Linked DNA regions of Homo sapiens: region 1 is linked to region 2. The links are contacts of gene promoters, found by promoter capture Hi-C in blood cells and fetal thymus (Javierre and others, 2016). All regions are on one chromosome and are shown on one strand. Each heading gives the region's core, a stretch centred on a gene start or on the middle of the fragment in contact. The rest is flanking DNA. Distances are from core to core; before and after follow the strand shown. Region 1 holds the start of GATAD1 (GATA zinc finger domain containing 1). Region 2 holds the start of ING3 (inhibitor of growth family member 3).

Evidence for each region. The method cuts DNA at HindIII sites, captures the fragments that hold promoters and counts their contacts. A CHiCAGO score of 5 or more calls a contact.
Region 1: the fragment with the promoter of GATAD1 here is called in contact with the fragment with the promoter of ING3 in region 2 in 3 of 17 cell types (total B cells, non-activated CD4 T cells and naive CD8 T cells); the score reaches 6.6 in total B cells.

What each region holds. Positions count from the first base shown.
Region 1 is chr7:92,444,967-92,450,162 of GRCh38, reverse strand. It overlaps GATAD1 (GATA zinc finger domain containing 1), which reads right to left and starts at 2,681. Exons shown (of 5, transcript NM_021167.5): 1 at 2,185-2,681; 2 at 1,286-1,411. The coding sequence starts at 2,433. RefSeq lists an enhancer at 1,512-1,561 and a silencer at 1,992-2,761. The HindIII fragment of the contact is 4,596 bases long and covers 1-4,591 here.
Region 2 is chr7:120,947,736-120,953,525 of GRCh38, reverse strand. ING3 (inhibitor of growth family member 3) reads right to left here and starts at 2,749. Exons shown (of 12, transcript NM_019071.3): 1 at 2,602-2,749; 2 at 2,291-2,362; 3 at 122-222. The coding sequence starts at 2,629. RefSeq lists an enhancer at 2,127-2,206. The HindIII fragment of the contact is 9,487 bases long and covers 1-5,790 here.

The sequences.
Region 1 (5,196 bases), core at 1,432-3,931, about 29 Mb after region 2:
ACATACTTTTATGCCACAACATAGAAAGTAGGCCTCCCCAGATGTGTCTTGCTTAGTACCATTGAAGAAAGGTTGCAGAGAAACGATAATGAAATAATTGCTGAGAACACGGTATACCATACTTAAAAGGAAAAAAATGTGCATATGTGATACAAATATCAATAACATGTTTTGTGTAATCAACAAATGCCTCACTTAACTATAAAAATCTTAAATAAATTAGAAGCAACTAGTCTGAATAAGAAAATACTTTGGGGAAGGGAACATCACACACTGGGGCCTGTCGGAGATGGGGGCCAAGGGGAGGGAGAGCATTAGGACAAATATCTAATGCATGCGGGGCTTAAAACCTAGATGATGGGTTGATAGGTGCAGCAAACCACCATGGCACGTATACCTATGTAACAAACCTGCACATTCTGCACATGTATCCCAGAACTTAAAGTAAAATTAAAAAAAATTCATTAAATTAAATTAAAAAAAAAAAAAGAAAATAGTCTGCCATCTGCATAAGTCTACTGCAGGGTCCCTTTGTGTTTTAGAAATAAATATGGCCAACTTCAGAAACGTCTTTACGGGTAAGTGAAACATTCCTGTTCTGAAAGAAAAGAATATCATACTGAGACTTAAAAAAATAGTCCATAATGCACTGTCCACTGTGTTTGAACATTATCCCTTGTTTATAAAAACTGAGAATTTAATTGCAATAAAAATATGCTTTCAACTACTTCCAGCACAGGTCTTTCAACAATCTCTTTTCTTAGAGCAGAAGAGGAGATAAGGCTTAGCAAAATTTTTGACTCATATTCATCAAATACATCATCATCATAAGTCAGTAAGATACATTTTCTGGGGCTTTAATAACAAATAAATATGCAAATGATGAGTTCTAGTGTTAATATTTACTTAGATTTTTAAAGAATGAAAAAAAAAAGTTTTCTTAGTGTACCTGGCCATATCAAGAACCATAATCTCTCCTCTTCCTTTCCATAGAGAACCCCAAAAAATGGGCTCAAGGTTGATGTTTCTTTTAAACCCATATTTTATATTTTCCAGGGGAAAAAATAAAAGCTAAAAAACAAAAAGGAAAGAGTATTATTAACTTTATAAACAGTGAGCCTCCTGCAACAGAGCTCATTCCCTTTTGGGGAATCTGGACCATTCCCCAGAATACTAAGGAAGGGCTACCAAGGGCAGAGTCCAAGTTCAATGGTGAGAAATGAAGGCAGTGGCAGGATACACACAACGTCATTACAGTAAAAGGCACTGTCCACAAATATCTTACATTTTTCAATTTAAATATATGTCTTCTCCCTTTTCCTTTGGTGGAGACTTTCTTTTCAGCAGCCGGAGCAGATTTGTATTTAGTGTTTCTGAGCCGAGCAGACCTCCTGTGAATTTCCTGCTTACTCTGTTACACAAACAAATTAAAGAACAAAAAGAGAAAGAAGTAAAAAGTGCATAAAGGTTGCAGTACAATCATCTTACAAGGATCCCAGAGTATGTACTTTATAAGAGCATTTAACAATTAAGATTGCCCTTTTGCTTTTCAAGAGAAGTAATTACAGCAACTAGGCTAAGTAAAACCGGAAGTTCAGCACCCGGAATCTCGGAGCTCGCTGGACAGGCGTCTCCAGAGCCTCCAAAAGGTGTGAGCTGCTTGTAATAGGGCAGGAGGCGGGAGTAGGAGTCAGTCTTGACCAAGACAAACACTATTCATTTGTTGTGTCTACAATAGAGAAAAACACTTAACAACTTTACTCCCTAAGGCCAGAGAACGTAGTAGGTTATGGCGCCCCCTGCAACGGAATACTTAAGCTGCCATTTACAATAATGACATAATAATCTTACTTCATAACCTGATATGACAAAACCTTTAACAAGGAATGAGGTCCAGCGCCTGCATTTGTGGCATGACACTGTATACGACTGTGTAGACATGTGTATATTGAGATTTTCTTAAGGGCTTTACATCTTGGTTCTTATTGCTTTGAATTTCTTACAATAACAGGTGCTTCGGAATGGGCCAAACGAAAGATCTCAGTAGGAGGTGGGGAGGGGCGTTCCAGCCAGCAGGAGCACGGCGATCGGGGAAGCCCGCGCCCGCCCGCTCCCAGCCAGCCCGTCCCCGCCCGCCTAGCACCTGGTCGGCCTCCGCCGGCGGGAGGGGCCGGAGGAGCTCACCTGCTTGCCGCCCCCGCCCCCGTTGCTCTGCGGAGGGGTGGCGGAGGTGCTGGCGAAGGTCGCCGCGCCGAAGCCGCCGCCGCCGCTGCCCCCAGTCCCTCCAGCCGCCCCCGAGCCTGCGCCCCCGCTGCCCGCGCCGCCCCGGCCAGTGCAATGATGGCAGAGGATCTCCCCCTGCGCTCCCTTCTTCCACATGGAGGACGACGTGGTCTTGCATACGCTGCAGGTGGGCTTCAGGCCCAGCGGCATGGTGGCCGGCTCGGGCGGCCCCCGCGGGCGCAGAGACACGGGAATGGCGGACGGTAGCCCGGCCGCCCCCTGGTCGGCCCGCCACTCCCGGCGATAGGAAGAGCGGTGAGAGCGTCGGCACGGAGCTGCCGGTGAAAGGACCAGGCCGCTGGCGCTGCCCCGTGGAGGCGGGAAGCGGGTTCCGCCGGCTCCGCAGGCGGAGGCCAGGATTCCCTGGCCCGAGGCACTGGGAAGCAGGACTGGGAAAGGGATCTGGCCGGGGTGGGGGGGACGCGGAGACTTCCGGCGGTGAGCTGGCCCCAGGGCCCCGCAGCCCGACCGCCTGACCGGAAGTGCAGCACCCGGAATTACTGGGAGCTTGCTGCAGTTCCGCTTGCTGTCGCCTAGGGGCAGGGTTCTCAAACTTTTTGGTCTCAGGCCTAGAATTTGCCGGGTAAAATACAGGACGCCCAATTAAATGTGACTTTCAGGTAAACGACGAACAATTTTTTTAGCGTGAGTGTATCCCATGCAATAATGGTTTATCCGAGAGGCGTTTAACTGGGGGTCCTGTATTTTTATGTGCTAAATCTGGCAATCCAGGTCTGGCGTGGTGGCTCACGCCTGCAATCCCAGCACTTTGGGAGACCAAGGCCGGCGGATTACTTGAGCTCAGGAGTTCGAGATCAGCCTGGCCAACGTGGTGAAACCCCTTCTCTAATAAATATACAAAAATTAGCCGGGCTCAGTGGCGGGCTCTGGGGTAATCCCAGCTACCCTGGAGGCTGCGGCAGAAGAATCTCTTGAGCGCGGGAGGTGGAGGCTGCAGTGAGCCAAGATCGCGCCATTGCACTCCAGCCTGGGGGATAGAGTGAGACTCCGTCTCAAAAAAAAAAAAAAAATCTGGCAATCTTACTTAGGAACCCTTTACACTCTTAAAAATTATACTTTGGACATCGCCCTACACCTCCCCCATGTCTATACTTTTGTTTAGTTGAATTCAGAGCATGCCGTTTATGGACATCGACAAAGGGTTCAGAAAATGCCATCCACTGACATCTATGTATTAGAAATTGAAATTGAGACATTTTACAGCCTAAGATGTCAAGCGCACATTCTTCAGCCGTTGGATAATATCGTTGCAAATCCTGTGGACTCTGAAGAGTATACCGATTAGAGAATGCGGAGAAAATCGAATAGCTGGCTGTTATTCAATTCAAAACTGTTGGAAAACAGTTTTGGCTCTGAGGACCCAGCAGTTGACAAACAGCAGGCCTGGGACAAGAGCAGTATGAGAAGTCAGATCGCCTCTTTTAATGTCACTAGTCAGTACAGGCCTCGCCAGACAAGTCTCTCCTCAGCCTCACTTGGAAGAACATGCCCTCTCTTCATGATCCTGGGTTTCCTAGACTTAGTATCCTTGGAAAGGTCTTGATGAATATATTGTGGTGGGAAGCAGTGGGGAGAAACAAACGCCTATTATGTCACAAAACCACATTTAGTGCTTATAACAACCTTGGAATGAGATATTATCAGATTTTACTGTTAATTGGTGATCAACGGAGGCACTTCTATGTGGACTGGCTGTCATTATAGCTGCTGCCCTTGGCACCAATTTCGAGGAGGGCTTTGGAACAGCCCTCTGGGGTGTGGGTTGTGGCTCAGTCACCTCCCCTCTAAATCTCAGTTTCCTTAACAGTAAAAATAAGTTTCCAGGACTGTTATGGGGATTAGGGCCAACTGTAAAAGTGGCTGAGGAGACTAGGTAAAGAGTGTTGTCTCACTTTAGAACAATGCTGAAGGTGTTTAGAGCCTGCCATCCTAAAATATGCCACTTTGGCATACTGATTCTTCTGAGCCAGAGGCAATGGAGCAAAAACAGATGCAGGGAAGGCTGTCTGACCACCCTCTTTCTGTTTGAAGCGGAACATAAAAGTTCCCTTGTGAAAGGTGCCCTTTCTGTACCAGGAAGAGGAGAATATTATTGCCAGAGGCAGAGTTGCCACTGAGAAGAATCTACAAACAAAACCTTACAAAAATTTGTAACCCATATTTTCCATTAACTTTCTACATACGGTTCTTCGTCACTTTCCCACAATTTGCCAGCCTTAGCCCAAGCCCCTTTGTCTTGTCACATCCCTGCAATTTATTATTTTTTGTTTAAAAGGACATATAAGCTTTCGGGCCTAGTAACTTCTATGGGTCTTTATTTTTCTTACAAAGCCTCCTGTGCATGTACAAAAATATTAAAACTTTTATGCCTTTTCCAGTAAATCTGTCTTATGTTAGTGTAATTCCCATGCCCAGCTACAGAACCAAAGAGGTGAGAAGAGGCCAGGCGTAGTGGCTCATGCCTGTAATCCCAACACTTTGGGAGGCTGAGGCAGGTGGATCACCTGAGGTCAGGAGTTCAAGACCAGCCTGGCCAACATAGCGAAACCCCATCTCTACTAAAATTACAAAAAATTAGCTGTGTGTAGTGGCAGGCACCTGTAATCCCAGCTACTCGGGAGGCTGAGGCGGGAGAATTGCTTGAACCTGGGAGGCAGAGGTTGCAGCCTGGGCGACAGAGCGAGAGACTCCATCAAAAAAAAAAAAAAAAAAGGTGAGGAGGAAGTTTCTCCTCACCTACAGTGTGAGGAAATCTAGGCACTTGATTTCCATGCTCCTGAATGTCTCTCCATTTGGGAACATATACCTCTCCTTGCAACTCATCTGCAAGTGACTCCCTCTCATTCACTGAAAACTTTGGCCCATAACTCACCAGCTTCCTCTCCACTACAA
Region 2 (5,790 bases), core at 1,500-3,999:
TTCTAAGGAGTCATTGATAATATTCTCTCATTTTGATATCCAGACCACTATTTAATTTTGAAATATCTTTTTCAGAGGGTCCCAATATTTCTTGATAAATTATCCAAAGTGTTGCACATACTTTTTTGATGGATGCCATTTGCTCTTCCCTCCACTCAGGTTTATTTTTCTTTGCATTCATAAAGAATTCACTGACTCTTTGTTCTAGTTGATCCATTGCATCTATGACATAATAAAAAAAATTCATATTAAATGACCAAATTCATATACTAAATATACATGGTTTGATTTAGGGAGGGAAAAAATCTGACAATACACACTCTTTCACCTTGCCAGTAACTTAAATATGTTATGCTTTGATTGTGTAAATATATAATGCCTCAATTATCTTCCTTTAAAAAGTTACAATTTTCCTTATTGACAGATTATTTTTGTTTTTGTTACTTCAAAATTTTTTCCAACAGCCAAAGTAGATAGGCTCTATACTATAATTTTTGAGCAATAAAGCCTTTAGGTCAAAAGCTAATGGTATTAAATCAGACAAATGTACCGAAACACAATTAAAACACCATTAGATAATCCTCACATTTCTTTTAACAAGAAAAAGTGATAAAAATATTTGGTATATGGCATTAAACATCTCATCATGTCATATCCCAACTGAAAGTAGTAGGTACAATCATTTAAACATTAATTCTAGGTAAGTTTTCCCCAAATTATATGCCAAGACTAATCATCTCATTGGATGTCTGCTAAAAAAAAAAAGGAAAAATTAATAAAAAAGATTCTGTTGTTATGTAAGTTGAGAAAAATCTTTTCATAATATACTTCTTTTGGAGATTTCCAGTCCACAATAGCCTTTTAAAGACTCTATGAAGTCCTATGGTTAATTTTTTAGAAGTATGTTCCTTTGTTTAAATAAGCATTTCTGAATTTATTTGGCACACAGTTCTGTTAATCCATAATACCTATTAACTTTAGAAAATTCTAGTTACTGTAAAGAAATGCACGTTTAAAAAGCCTGTAATATGTATAATGTAAGCCCAAATTACAAGAGAATTTAAAATTTTAAACAATAAAATATAAAAATAATTTAAAGTAAGTTACCCTTTATTTAATGCCTACTTTGTATCAGATACTAGAAATTCTAATCCATGTGTAACATTTTAAATCCTTGGATGATTCTCTTTTTATAGACAATGTAAGCCCCTCACAAGTGATAATACAGTCAGAGTCAATGAGTAAATTAGTAAAGCCCTAAAACAAACTCAGATCTGACATCAATGTCTGTGCTCAGTCCTGCAGAGAACACTACTTCAGCAAATCTTCAGCATTTCAACTACACTAAAATTAAAATGAATTTGTGAGATAGCTGGAGAACCACACACACAATTCATACTTCATATCACAATCCACTGAACAGAAAGTGGCTTCCATGCCACCACTTTTTATTATGTGCCACCTGAAACTTACCGGAAAAATATACTCATAAGCAAAGGGTATAGAAGTGGGTGTGTGGTCATGGGCAGAGAAGCCAGGAGCAGTGAAAAGGACAGGTTCTTAGCTGCAGCAGGTGGTCCCTGAGCCACCTATTTATAGTCGTTGCTCTATGAAAGAGCAAAGTTAATTTGGGGAAAAAGTCCTAGAGACTACCAAGCTATCACTGAAAGAAAAAGAAATGTTCATTAACTGCTAAAATTTTTAGTACAGCACATAAGAAACTTTACAGTGAAATCTAATTTCTGTCACTCATTTTAACCAAGAAAATGACGATTCTGTTACAATTTAAAATGTATCTAATGTGTAACTAAGTTTTCAAAATTTGACATTTGCCATGGTCTCTAAAGAGCTATATATAACCTCTGCTTCTGTGCTTTCCACTCTTGAAAAACTGTGAATAGGATGAACTTTAAAATAAGTATAAATGCTGAAATCTAAGTTCGATACGAAAAGGCTCAAGACGACATCTCAACATTTATTATGCTGACGTCCATTGAAACATAGATAACTATGTCAATGACGGTAGAGAAATATTTTTTGCACAATCCCACATTCTAGAAAGGAATACACGTGTCCCAATGCCTCCTGCTCTTGCAAAAGCCAGAAAAAAGTAGCATGGGAGGGAAGGGGAAGGCGAGATTCAGGGCTGCCAGTTCTTTTTGACAACTCCTTATGCACTAGCGGAGTGAGCCAGAGGACAGTGAAAGAGCACTAGGCGCTAGCAGTGATGACAAGCAAGTCTGGCACTGAACGCGCGCAGCGAACAGGAGTAGTAGACGCGCCGACTTACTCTGCACCTGCAGGTCCATCTCGCGCATTTCCGTGAAGCGGTCCCGCAGATCCATAGGAAGCTGCTCAATCACTGTCAAAGGGAGAGTCCGTCAGAGGGGCGGGGCCAACGGCGAAATACGCGCTTACGTCACTGCGCGCGTGCGTCAGGGGGGTCGAGGGGGCCGGCAGCCCACAACGAGGCTGCCAGTTACCGTGAGAAAGAAACATCCCCCGCCGCCCCCTCCCTCCCGCCATCTCGCTGCCCGTCCACTCGCGCTCTTGCCCGCCCGCACGTCCCACTGGCGGCCGCCGCCAGCGCCGCGCACTCACTTTCCAGATAGTCTTCTAGGTACAACATCGCGGCCCTTAGAGCTGAGGGAACAAGGGGGTCCAGGGGTTTATTTGTGTCACTCGCTGTCGCCGGAGTTTTGTCCCCTCCAATATGGCGCCTCCGCTAGCAGCACCCGCTCGACTCCGGCAAAAAAAAAAAAAGAAAAAAAAAAAAACCACTTTGGCGCCTGAGGCGCTTGCCTCACTGCCGCCCGGAGCTGCTATTGGTTGGTTCAAGCAATGACGTAGCCCGGCCGGTGTTCGCCCCCGTGCCTCTGTGGGAAATGTAGTTTTCTTCCTCCTCAGCGAGGGTTGGCGCGCTGGCGGCTCCCCTCGCAGAAACTACGAATACCGGGCGCCATTGCAAACAGTGCGTAACAGAATCCGAAATGCGGTGCCTCTGTTTATTTGTTGATTTTTGCACAGAGAATGGCGGGAGTTGTATGCACCTGCATAACACAACTAGGAACAACTTTTCACCTGTTCTTTGATGTGATTCCATGCCCCGGCGTTTGTGAGTTATGGGTTTCAAGAAGTGCCAGGCAAATAGCAAAGGTTCTAAACACTAGAATAATCAGCAAAGTTCGGGGAATTTGGATTGCTTAAAATAGAACTCTCTACTGGAATTTATCCTCATTATTCACTCTAAAATATAAAAGAGACACCTGGTTGGCTTACGTGTAATTTTAAAATAGTTTATACTGAGACTATGGAGTGAATATACATTTCCCAGATTAAAAGATGCACAAATAGTGTCAGTAGCCACTTATATATTCTAGTTTGCGGTCCATCTAATCGTCATTCTAATGTAATTGATCTATACATACAATCTGCATCCGCAAATAATAATAATAATAATCTTCATCATCACAGTGAGCAGCCATGAATTACGGATGCAGCCTTGATTTCTAATAGGCTGTTAATAGCAGTAACTTTATGTTGAGTAAATAGTCCATATTCGAGGTTGGTTGTCTTCGGCGTTCTTTAGTTTCTACTTTTCGACCTCTCCCAGCAAATGTTTTCCTGTGATATATTTAGTACGTCCCTACTCAGTTTCTTTTTAAATTGTTTTTTATTAAAAACTCTTGCACTCAATAAATGCTAGATATTGTTATTTTCCACTCTTCTTAACTTTTCGATTTTCTGGGGAAATTGTCATTAGTTCATAATTTATTGTTCATTTTCTGTTTTTCAAATTGCAGTTGAAACTGTGTGTGTGTGTTTCTTGCTTTCCTTCTCCATTACATACTCTTGTACTCAAGGTTTTCACTGCTCTTAAGCAGGAAACTTTCCTGTCGTGAATGATGAATCATGATGAATCTCAACGGAACCTTACTTCGATCCTAATAAGAATTAGAATTTTATAGTTTCTAGTTAAGTTTTTCATTACTTCCATCGAAAATCAAGTACTTTCGATCTTTTTCTCCCTTCTTTTTTTCCTCCTTTCTTCGTTTCCCATCCTTCCTTCTTCTGGCTGCTTTTAACATCTCTTTGACATCTTTTTGCAGTTTTGTAGTGATCTAAGTCTGAATTCCTTCCTTATTCCCTTTTCTTTCCTTAAAATTTTAAAATTATGCTTAGGATTTGAGGGGATTCCTGAATTTCAGGATTGGTGCCCTGCAACAATTCTAGAAAATTCTCAGCGTTTGTCTTTTCAGTATTGCTTATTTCTCATTTTTTCCATTAAGACTTTCTCTCTTTATTCTCTTATTTATCTTAATCTTTCTTTTATATGTTTTATTTTAGAATTTTCATAATTTTTCAGGTTTGGAAGTTCTATTCGGTTCTCTTTTCAAGACATCTTATAATTTCTTATACAAATTATTTAGTCTGTATCTTGTTTCTGTTAAACCTAATATTGAAACATTTATGGGCCTTTTAGTGCTATTTCTTCAGAAATGGGCACTTTTACTCATGGTGGCTTTTTCCTGTTGGGTTGCGATTTTGGACTCTGAATTCCTGTTTCTGGGATTACAAGCATAAGGATTCTTTGAGCTGGAGTTGAAATTGAGTTTTCATGGAGAGCATTAGAATTTGCTTGTCAGTTTGTTTGGAGACATCATAAACCCCTAGGACCAGATTAAATTGTCCCCTTGAGGTTTATTGTATTGCACAGATAGATTGAATTTGGGCCTCTATCCCAAATGGATTGTTACAGATTCTCAGAGGAGAATTTTTTTTTCTTTCTTTACTGGGCTCCAAGGCCAAGACAGACATGTTTCATTACTGGCCTATTCTGTGCATGAGGCTTATATGTCATTTACCCTTACATGGAGAGTATAGTCCATTGGGGCCCCAGATTTTTGTCTGCTGTAAGACTCTTCCTTTTAAACTGATACTTGGGTTTATCTTCTGACCCTGGCATGCTGCACAGCTATTAAAGTAAGAGCTCTAGGTGTCCAGAACTTGACAGATAGTCTCTGAACAAAAGCCTACTTTGGCTTGCACTTATTTCTCAGGATATTTTCATTTTCCTTCTTTTTCCCCTTTTATATTCGTTCTGAAAATTCCTTAATTTCCTACTAGTTCATCAGTGTATTTTTTTAAATCTAGCACTTTTAGTTGTTTTTGCCAGGTGGCTCTTTCAGAGTAGCTAAAATGGTATGCTATCATGAATAGAAGTACATCATTTCAGTGTAAACTGAGCTTCCTCAGGGAGTGTTCCATATTAAGGGAAATGAGATAATAAATCATTCCCAATTCAGTCAGTATAAATACACACTCCACAGAAACCAAAAATAAAACTTACACACTGTATATTTTAGTTAAATAATGTAACTCTTATTGTTGGAACATGTATCAGCTGAGCTGCAACAATTATGTTTGCATAGGCTTGTGATAACTTCTTACATAATTAGGTCATACAGTAGATACCATTTTTGAGTGGCTGCCTACTTAAAACCAATACTGCATTTCCAGGGAGTGCCCCTCATATGGATTGACCATGTCTGTATCAAAACTCATTAATTTATCAGGGATTCACCAAAGCTGGACCTATCAGATGCATTTTCTTATGATTTGAAATTGGGAATGAAAAGACACAGAGACTGGCAACCTTACAGAAGTACAGGACAGTAAATACATGGCCCACAAACTCCTGCTGGTGAGAGCCCCCAGAGAAGCTCTACTTTTTCCCTTGCCTTTCCCCTCTTTCTTTGTCAGTTTCTCTAACGCTAGTTGTATAAACTT